Linked DNA regions of Homo sapiens: region 2 is linked to region 1. Evidence: promoter capture Hi-C in human tissues and cell types (Jung and others, 2019). All regions are on one chromosome and are shown on one strand. Each heading gives the region's core, a stretch centred on a gene start or on the middle of the fragment in contact. The rest is flanking DNA. Distances are from core to core; before and after follow the strand shown. Region 1 holds the start of SPACA7 (sperm acrosome associated 7). Region 2 has its middle 39 kb from the start of LINC01070.

The links. Contacts are between HindIII fragments. The study calls those that stand out against the background at their distance.
Region 2: a contact is called between a fragment that was not itself captured here and the fragment with the promoter of SPACA7 in region 1, in 2 of the 25 tissues and cell types used here (dorsolateral prefrontal cortex and spleen).

Annotation. Positions count from the first base shown.
Region 1 is chr13:112,373,756-112,378,055 of GRCh38, forward strand. It overlaps SPACA7 (sperm acrosome associated 7), which reads left to right and starts at 2,600. Exons shown (of 7, transcript NM_145248.5): 1 at 2,600-2,724. The coding sequence starts at 2,631. It overlaps LOC105370373 (a long non-coding RNA gene), which reads right to left and starts at 2,523. Exons shown (of 3, transcript XR_944295.3): 1 at 2,369-2,523. RefSeq lists an enhancer at 4,052-4,300. The HindIII fragment of the contact is 14,702 bases long and covers 1-4,300 here.
Region 2 is chr13:112,234,084-112,238,383 of GRCh38, forward strand. No RefSeq gene overlaps it. Among named protein-coding and RNA genes, the nearest start is that of LINC01070, 39 kb to the left of the region's middle. The HindIII fragment of the contact is 3,897 bases long and covers 1-3,762 here.

The DNA of each region.
Region 1 (4,300 bases), core at 1,350-3,849:
ACACTCTAACCTCTTCTTTCCAATTAGCTAAGCAAATCTATGAAACGCGGGGGGCAGAGCTCTGTGAACTAAGCCAGTCTGACTACCATATATATTTTTTAGACAGAGTCTTGCTCTGTCACCCAGGCTGGAGTGCAGTGGCGCGATCTCCGCTCACTGCAAGCTCCGCCTCCCAGGTTCATGCCATTCTCCTGCCTCAGCCTCCCGAGTAGCTGGGACTACAGGTGCCCACCCAGTTAATTTTTTTGTATTTTTAGTAGAGACGGGGTTTCACCGTGTTAGCCAGGATGGTCTTGATCTCCTGACCTCGTGATCCGCCCACCTCGGCCTCCCAAAGTGCTGGGATTACAGGCGTGAGCTACCGCGCCCGGCCTCTGACTACCATATTTTAGTGCTCAAATCTGTTCCTCCACTCCTGCATCTGGGATTAGTTTGACTCATTTGGCCGATGAGACATTAGCAAATGTGGTGCAAGAAAAGGCTTGTTTGCATCGAGGCTTACTCTCCTTTCTGCTGTGACCAAGCCCAGGCTGCCTGCTAGAGGCCGAGAGACCACATGGAGGGAAGCCTCAGCCATCCCAAGCCCCAGCATCCTAGCTAAGGCCTCAGACATGTCCATGAGGCCACACTAGGCCAGCAGCCCCCAGAGCCAACCCACAAAGTTGTAAGCAATCACACATGGGCTGTATCAAGTCACCGAGCTTCGGGCAGCCTTGAGAATGACTCCTTCCTCGACCAAATCAGCGAGGCTCCTCTGACCCCTCTTCTCAACGAGGCCTCGCCCCCAGCCCTGATCAAATTCCTCATCCTCCGCCTTGAGGTGGAAGTCCCTGGCCTGCCTTAGCCAGACATCCCTCCTTGGTGCAGTGGGTGTCGTTCGACAGGCAGCAGTGCAGGGTTCTGCTGTCATGGGAGCTCTGGCTGCTGTCCGTTTGTACATTCAGCCTCTTAGGCCCATGCTGCTGGCCCCAAAATGACATTCTGAGTAGCAAGAGCCTGGGTTATAGAAGCAAGCATCTCACTTGGACCATTCATTAACTCAGAGTGGGACTTGGAACCCACTGGGTTTCTGTAAATGTCAACCATGCTTAGTGTGCCTTTATGGACACGCTGAAAATCTGAAATATACTCCCCACACCTTGAGGTAGATTGGCTACCACTGCATCTATCAAAAGGAAAACCTGAGCAAAAATGTGCTGTGGGTTCCCATACAAGCAATAAAAATTAAAGAGCCAGAGACCCATGGTGGGTCAGCCATCCTTGGGGTCCTGACCAGACCTCGGGGGCATTGTTAGTCTTGTGCGTCCAGGGCCCCAGTGATATGGTTTGGCTCTGTGTCCTCACCCAAGCATCATCTTGAATTATAATCCTCATAATCCCACGTGTTGAGGGAGGGACTTGGTGGGAGGCGATCTGATCATGGGAGTGGATTCCTGCATGCTGTTCTCATGATAAGTGAGTTCTCACTAGAGCTGATGGTTTTATAAGTGTTTAACAGCTCCTCCTTCATGTACTCTCTCTCCTGCCGCCTTGTGAAGAAGGTGCCTGCTTCCCCTTCCGTCATGATTGTAAGTTTCCTGAGGCCTCCCCAGCCATGCAGAACTGTGAGTCAATTAAATCTCTTTTCTTTATAAATTACCCAGTCTCAGGGAAGTTCTATATAGCAGTGTGGGAACAGACAAACACACCAGCCCTCTCCACCATGGAGCTGGGATCTGAGGGCTGTTCACCTGGGACCCCACCACCGGCCGAGTCTAGACCAGCTGCCCCACTCTGAGCCCTGGATGTAGGAGTCAGTCCAGGGGTGAGATAGGATCCAGGGGAGCCAACCAGAGTGACTCCTTTGGGGTTTTGTCACTGCACGGATGGAGAAAGCTCTAGAAAGTCTAGGAGATAGAGCTGGGAGGATGATAACATGGAAATGCAGCCATGTTCTCCTCTCGTGATTAAAGTCTCACTGCCAGGGAAAGATTGGGGCTGATGCTGAGAAAGAAGGTGTGGGGGAAAGGAGGCTGAAACCTGGGTCATCTGTCTCCTGTTCTTCATGATCCTGGAACTTTGAGGGTGGGGGAGGGTGGGAGGGGACATGGGGCCACGGGCCTCTGTTCTTCAAGGCTCTGTTCTTCAAGGGACCTTTAAGAGGTGATTAGACCCTCTGGATCTGTCGGTTCTGGCACTTGCTCTGTAATTCAACCACCTCTCCAGCATCCTTCAAATACGCCTCTTTCCATGGGAGCAGATTTTGTTGGCTTTTGGCCACTGGCCCTTAAGTCCTGATTAGTATCTACCCCTTGAGTCCTCAGGGTGCTCAGGACAGAGGAAGTCACCAGAACAGGCAATAAGAAAGAGTGGAGAGGATCTCTGTTACCTTAAGACCCCAGTGAGCCTCCTCCCTGCTTCCCAGTCACAGACTCTGGACAGAAACCCTGCCCCCCGCCCCTGGCAAGATGCCAGCTCCCTTCCTGGTCCTGATGTCACAGGTCCCTGGACATGACCTCCCCACCAGGGCAGGACCCCAGCTCCCTTCCTGGTTGTGATGTCACAGGTCCTGACATTCCACAGTGTCCTGGAGACCAAGGATGGGAAACTGTCAACCTTCAGAACGTCCTTCTCCCTCAGCTGGAGGGAGCATGGCAGTGAGCCAAGGAGACGGGACCCTCTGCTTTGTCCTCCTGCTGTGCTGTTGGCAAGAAACTGAGCTCCGGCCGAGAACCGTGATTCCAGGTAGGGCCCCACAGGGATGTCTCAGCAGAAAGAGAACTGAACCAGGTGGGGAGCGGCGGCCTCTTCTCCCATGGGTTCCTCTTATTCCCAACCTACATGAATTTACCATTTATTCCTTGGGGAATGAATGTAGCTGAAAAGTCTTTCTATCTTTGAAGACTTTTTAAAATCTAGATGTCCATAGGAAAGTTGCAAATGTTACTTATTTTAACTTTTTATTATGGAAAATTTCTAACTGGGAAGAATATCATGAACCTTCGTGTATTCACCCTCAGGTTCAATTATTGTGCATATTTTGTTTTTTTCTACACACACACACATACACACTCCACACCACATACACACACTTTTCTTGTTTGGGGAGTATTTTAGCACCATCCCAGATGCCTTACCACCTCATGTAAAACATTTTCTTGCGAAGAGATAAAAGCATTATCTACAATGTCATAATCAGACTAACATAATTACCAAAAGCCTTTATCTCAGCTCATACCGTTAAAAAATATTTGTGATGCTTGCTAAAGATGGGCAGGCAGCCTTTATTCAAAGGGGGCTACTACCATGGTGTCTCATAATAGTGGAGAGTGGGCTCAACTCCAAATACAGGGAAAGTGGAGATTTGCAGCCAAGGATCAGGGTGGGTCAGTGGATGAACATTGCTAAAAGGTAGGAGAATTCTTTGCTAAACTGATTCAGCAAAGGCCAAGAGGGCTTTTATAAACAAAAATGAAGCATTTATATTTTTTGTCCCACCTGATTACTCTAGAATTTGGATATTATGATTTTCAGGACCATACAATTGTTTGCATAAGTTTAATAAAAATTGATTATCCTTGCAACAGGACACAAAGGTCTGCTATCTTTGAAGACCTTTTAAAATCTAGACATCCATGAGAGAGTTGCATATGTTACTTATTTTAACTTTTTATTATGGAAAATTTCTAACTTGGAAGAATATCATGAACCTCCATGTATTCACCCTCTAGTTCAATTATTGTGTATATTGTGTTCGGCCAAACAGGAGGCCAGACCTGAAAGGAAGCCAAGGCAATAAAATAATCAAAGATGGAGGGTGAGGAATTTGATCAGATATCAAGGGTGACCAGGCCAAGACTAGGGGATTTCCACTAAAAGACTTCACAGGATTCCTACTAAACATGGGGAAAAGCAGACAAAAGCAGAAGCTAGGGTCAAGGCCTAGTCAAAGAGAAGACTCAGAGGAGCCTGGCATGAGGTAAGTCAAGGAGCGAGGCTTTCTCATTCCCTCCTCTTGTTCAAGAAAGAAGAGACATTCCTTTTCTCTTTGAACAAGATAAGTCCATGTTTCATCTGGTGGAGGATGTGTGCTGGATGGTACAAGTAGTCGGGAATTTAATGAGGGGAATGTCTACGAAAAAGAGAAGAAAAACAAAGATTTATAGTTGGAAACACAGTTTCCGAATCCAGAGGGCAGTCTGTTGAGAAGATTTCTGGATTTTGGGCTCAAGGTATCTTCAGCCGATGGGGCAAGGATGGATTTCCTAGTTTGCAGGGGGTGTGTCCTTGGTGACATCATGACCATCAGAGCCACAGTCAT
Region 2 (4,300 bases), core at 564-3,063, 140 kb before region 1:
CTGCTGTGTCAGAGCTCAGTTCTTAAAATGATAAAAGTTTATCTCTTGCTTTAACTGTGGGCTCCACTCAGTTTGTGACCCACAGTGACAGAGAAGACACCATCTCAATTGCTAGTCGCAATTTTATCCAGAAGGAAAGGAGCCTTCAGACTTCCGCCTGGAGGTGACACATGCACTTCCACTCACATTTCCTGGGCTGACGCCCGTCCCGGGGCTACCCCTGCTCTGCCAGTGTGTGTGGAGAGGGGAGGTGTTTCGGTTGGCAGCACTAAGCCCTAGCGATCCACACTTCTGGCCAGCAAGCACTGGGTCCCCTCCCTTCCTCTGTGCAGCCCAGCCCCATATCCCAGGGTGGTGTCCTGTCTCTGCATCCAGGGCTGAGTCCAGGATCTTTGAGCAATGCCCGGTAGCTTCTTCATCAGGCCCAGATCAAGCCCCTCAGAGCCCGGGGATCTGTGACCCAGCAAGTGTAGGATGTGTGCCCCTAACATCCAGTTGGCCATATAGGCAACCATGATGAATGGCCCCACTCGGAGCAAGGAGGACAGGCCGGGCCACAGTCACTGGTCTACAATAACCAGGCAGATGTGGTGTGGACCCGCTCCGGGCTGTCTCTTGATGAGGTCCTGGTCCTGCTCCTGGGGGTGGCTTGCTGCTTGTCGCCCTTCAAGGCACTGGGCCCCTCCTCTTGGGTGGTTCTTCTTTGGCATGGTTTGGACATTTGTCCCCTCTCAATCTCATGTTGAAATGTAATCACCAGTGTTGGAGGTGAGGCCTGGCCGGAGGCGATGGGGTGGATCCCTGATGAACGGCTTGGCACCATTCCCTTGGTGATGACTGAGTTCACGTGAGATCTGGCTGTTTAAAGTGTGTGGCACCTCCCCCTTCCCTCTCTTGCTCCCACTCCTGCCATATGAAGCACCTGCTCCTACTTTGCTTTCTGCCATGATTGGTAGCTCCCTGAGGCCTTCCCAGAAACCAAATAGATGCAGGCATCATGCGTGCACAGCCTGCCCAACAGTGAGCCAATTAAATCTCTTTTCTTTATCAATTACTCATTCTCAGGTCCTCCTTCATAGCCATGCAAGAGTGGCCTAACAAACACATCCCTTTTCCATTCGCCTCCATGGCCACATTCACTGTGGGCATCAGATGCACTCCCTCCCAGACCCCTTCTTGTTTACAGATGGTGGATGCCAAGGGTCACTTTCATTCCCTAAAATCTTAGTCTCTCTTAGCCACAGTGTGTGGTTCTTTGGCAGTAAAGTCTTCAAGAGCTTAGTGAGCTGCTTCTCTGTTTGGTTCCACACAGCACACACATCAAGAGCTGCATGCTCAGCGACTCTGTAGGTCTTCCTAGTAGACTTGCCACGTTCCCTGGCTTCCTTACTCCTGTGGCCCTCAGCAGATAGGACTGACCTGTCTATTGGTATCATGGGCTCTGCTGGGAGGCTGAAACCCTTGCCCTCTTCCGGGAGCCACTTAGTCCTTGCTAAAGGAGTCTCTAACCAAGGCAGCCTTTGGGGTTCCCTCATGTGCTAGTCTATTAAGAGATGTTAACAATGAGTCTAGGGACCAAGCACTTGACCAGCCTTGCCTGAAAGGCTGAGATCCAAACAGTCGTGGCAGTTCAAAGCATTTCCAAGTTTACTTTTTACGCTATCAAGGGAGAAGCAACTGTCTGTTCCAATCCTACGAGTCCCTGAATTTGAGGGCTCTCTGCCCCTCTGAGTCCTGCCTGCCACTGACAAGCTTATCCCTTTCTTGTAATACTTTGTTGTACAGACACTGCCAACTGCTGTGGCTAGAACTGTGTCCCCAAAAAGATATGACCGAGCCCTAATTCCCAGTATCCGCGAATGGGATTTTTTTTGGAAATAGTACCTTTGCAGATGTAATCAAGTCCAAATGAGCCACATGGGATTAGGGTGGGCCTAAACCCAGTCACTGGAGTTCTTATTAGAAGAGACGCAGAGACTCTCTGGGAAGATGCCACATGAAGATACAGGCACGGACTCACAGGGAGAAGGCCTTGTAAAGAAGGAGGCAGAGACCGGAGTGGGGCTGCCACAAGCCGAGAGAGGCCAGGTCCCTCTGGGAGCCTCCAGAAGCTAGGAAGAAACACAGAAGGGCTCCCCCAGGTCCTTCTGTGGCAGGGCGGGCTGCTGGCCACACCTTGATTTTGGACCCCTGGCCTCCTGAACTATGAGAGAATACATGTCTGTTCTCGGAGCCAGCCAGTGTATGGTACTTTTGCTACAACAGTGCTAGGAGACCAGTGCACCAACCAATACCTGGTAGCAACACACATAACACACACGTGACCTGACTCTCTGGCTCCTCCAGAAGGACCTTCACCAAATGCTTTCTTCAGCACGATGTAGATGGCATCTTCTCAGCCTTCAGTAACAGTTGCCGGTCTTCAACTCACTACTAAGACAATGCCAGGTATTTGAGGATTATTTTTTACCCTAGCATCTTTCTTCTATTTCTAGACTAGTGAGGATAAGGGTAGATTTCACTGCAGTAACAAACAATGCCAAGTCTCAGTGACCTCAAGCAACAAATGCCCACTACGCATCTTTGCTTCTGAATACACAGGCTGCCTGGTGACGCTGCTCCAGCCAGGACCGGGGCTGATGGGGCAGCCCCACGTCAAACCTGCTGCCACTGCAGCGGGAGGCTGAGAACCGCTCACTGCCTCTTAATACGCACCCCTTCTGCTCATGGGGCCACACTAAATTCAGTGGGGAAGGCCCATGTGATCCCCTGTGTGCTTGGCAAAAGAACTGGAAATATTTAGTGAACATCAACAATCACCACACAAATTAATGATTTTGTTGTTGCTGCTGCTATTGCAAATGGTTTCTTTGAAAGTGGTATTTTCTACCTGTATTTTGCTGGTGAGTAAAAATGCAGTTGACTTCTGTACTGTGATCTTGATTTTGATTATGCAACCTTGCTTAGCGCTTGTGAAATATAAATATTTGTGCATTCTGCTAGGTTTTTTATGTAGATAATCACATTGTCTGCAGATTCCGACGGTATGTTTAAAAATTCTTTTCCTTATTAGCCCGTAAATCTTTTCTTTCTTCTCTTGACTGAATACACCAGGTAGGACTTTAAGCAGCACATTGAGTGGAGTTGGTGATAGCTGGCATCCTTATTTTATCTCTGATTTTAAAGGTAACATTTCATAATTGTTTACTAAGAATGACCATTGTTGAAGGCTTGCAGTACAGACCCTCAATTCAGGTGAGGAAAATTCTTCCTATTTTTAATTTAGTGAAAGGTTAGCATTATATGATGTCGACAATTATCAAAGACTTTTCCTTCTCTATTGCAATAACTGTACTTTTTTTAAAAGTCTGTAAGTATTACAAATTAAGCTTATATATTATCTAAAGTAATAGCTTGCTTGGATCCCTGAGTTAAACACGGCTTGGTCAAGATGGATGATCACTTTACACACTGCTGGCTTAGGTTTGCTAATGTGCCAGGCCCAGGGAGGGAGCTTGCTGAGGCACCGGATACACTTTCTTGAATAAAACTGATGCAGCCTCATGCTCATGGCTCCTATGGGTTAAGACATTGTTAATTACAAGACACAGCATCCATTTCATAACCGATTTTCAGGGGGAAACCCTTGCTGCATTACATATACATAATGCTTAATAAGACACATTCTAAGCATGGATGATGTAACCGCTGAGGAAAAGCAGATGCACACAGATTATTCAATTAATGTAGTTTGGGGAGTCACTTCCTAATGTATTGAGCTTTAGTGTCTTCATTTGTCAAAGGAGGGGATGGATACTCTCTAAGGCACCCTCTGGATTTAAAATTCTATGATACCTTCTCCTCAATAATCCTAGACCGGAAGAACAACCCCACAGCCTCCTGGACCAGAGCCTTGAACTGTTCAATTTAAAACAGTAGCCGAATAAGCTCCCACGAAAAGAGAAATGACAAAGTCAACAAGAGACTGTTCACAAATGTATGAGTTCATTCTCGCATTGCTATAAGGAAATACCTGAGACCGGGTAACTGCTAAGAAAAGAGGTTTAATTGGCTCATGGTTCTGCAGGCTTTACAGGAAGCATGGCAGTGTCAGCTTCTGGGGAGGTCTCAGGAAGCTTCCAATTATGGCAGAAGGTGAAGCAGGAGGGGTGTCTCTCGTGGCCAGAGCAGGAGCAAGAGTGAGAAAAGGGAGGTACCACACAGTTTAAACAAACAGATCTCACGAGAGCTCACTATCATGATGACACTACCAAGGGGGATGGTGTTAAACCAGGGAAAC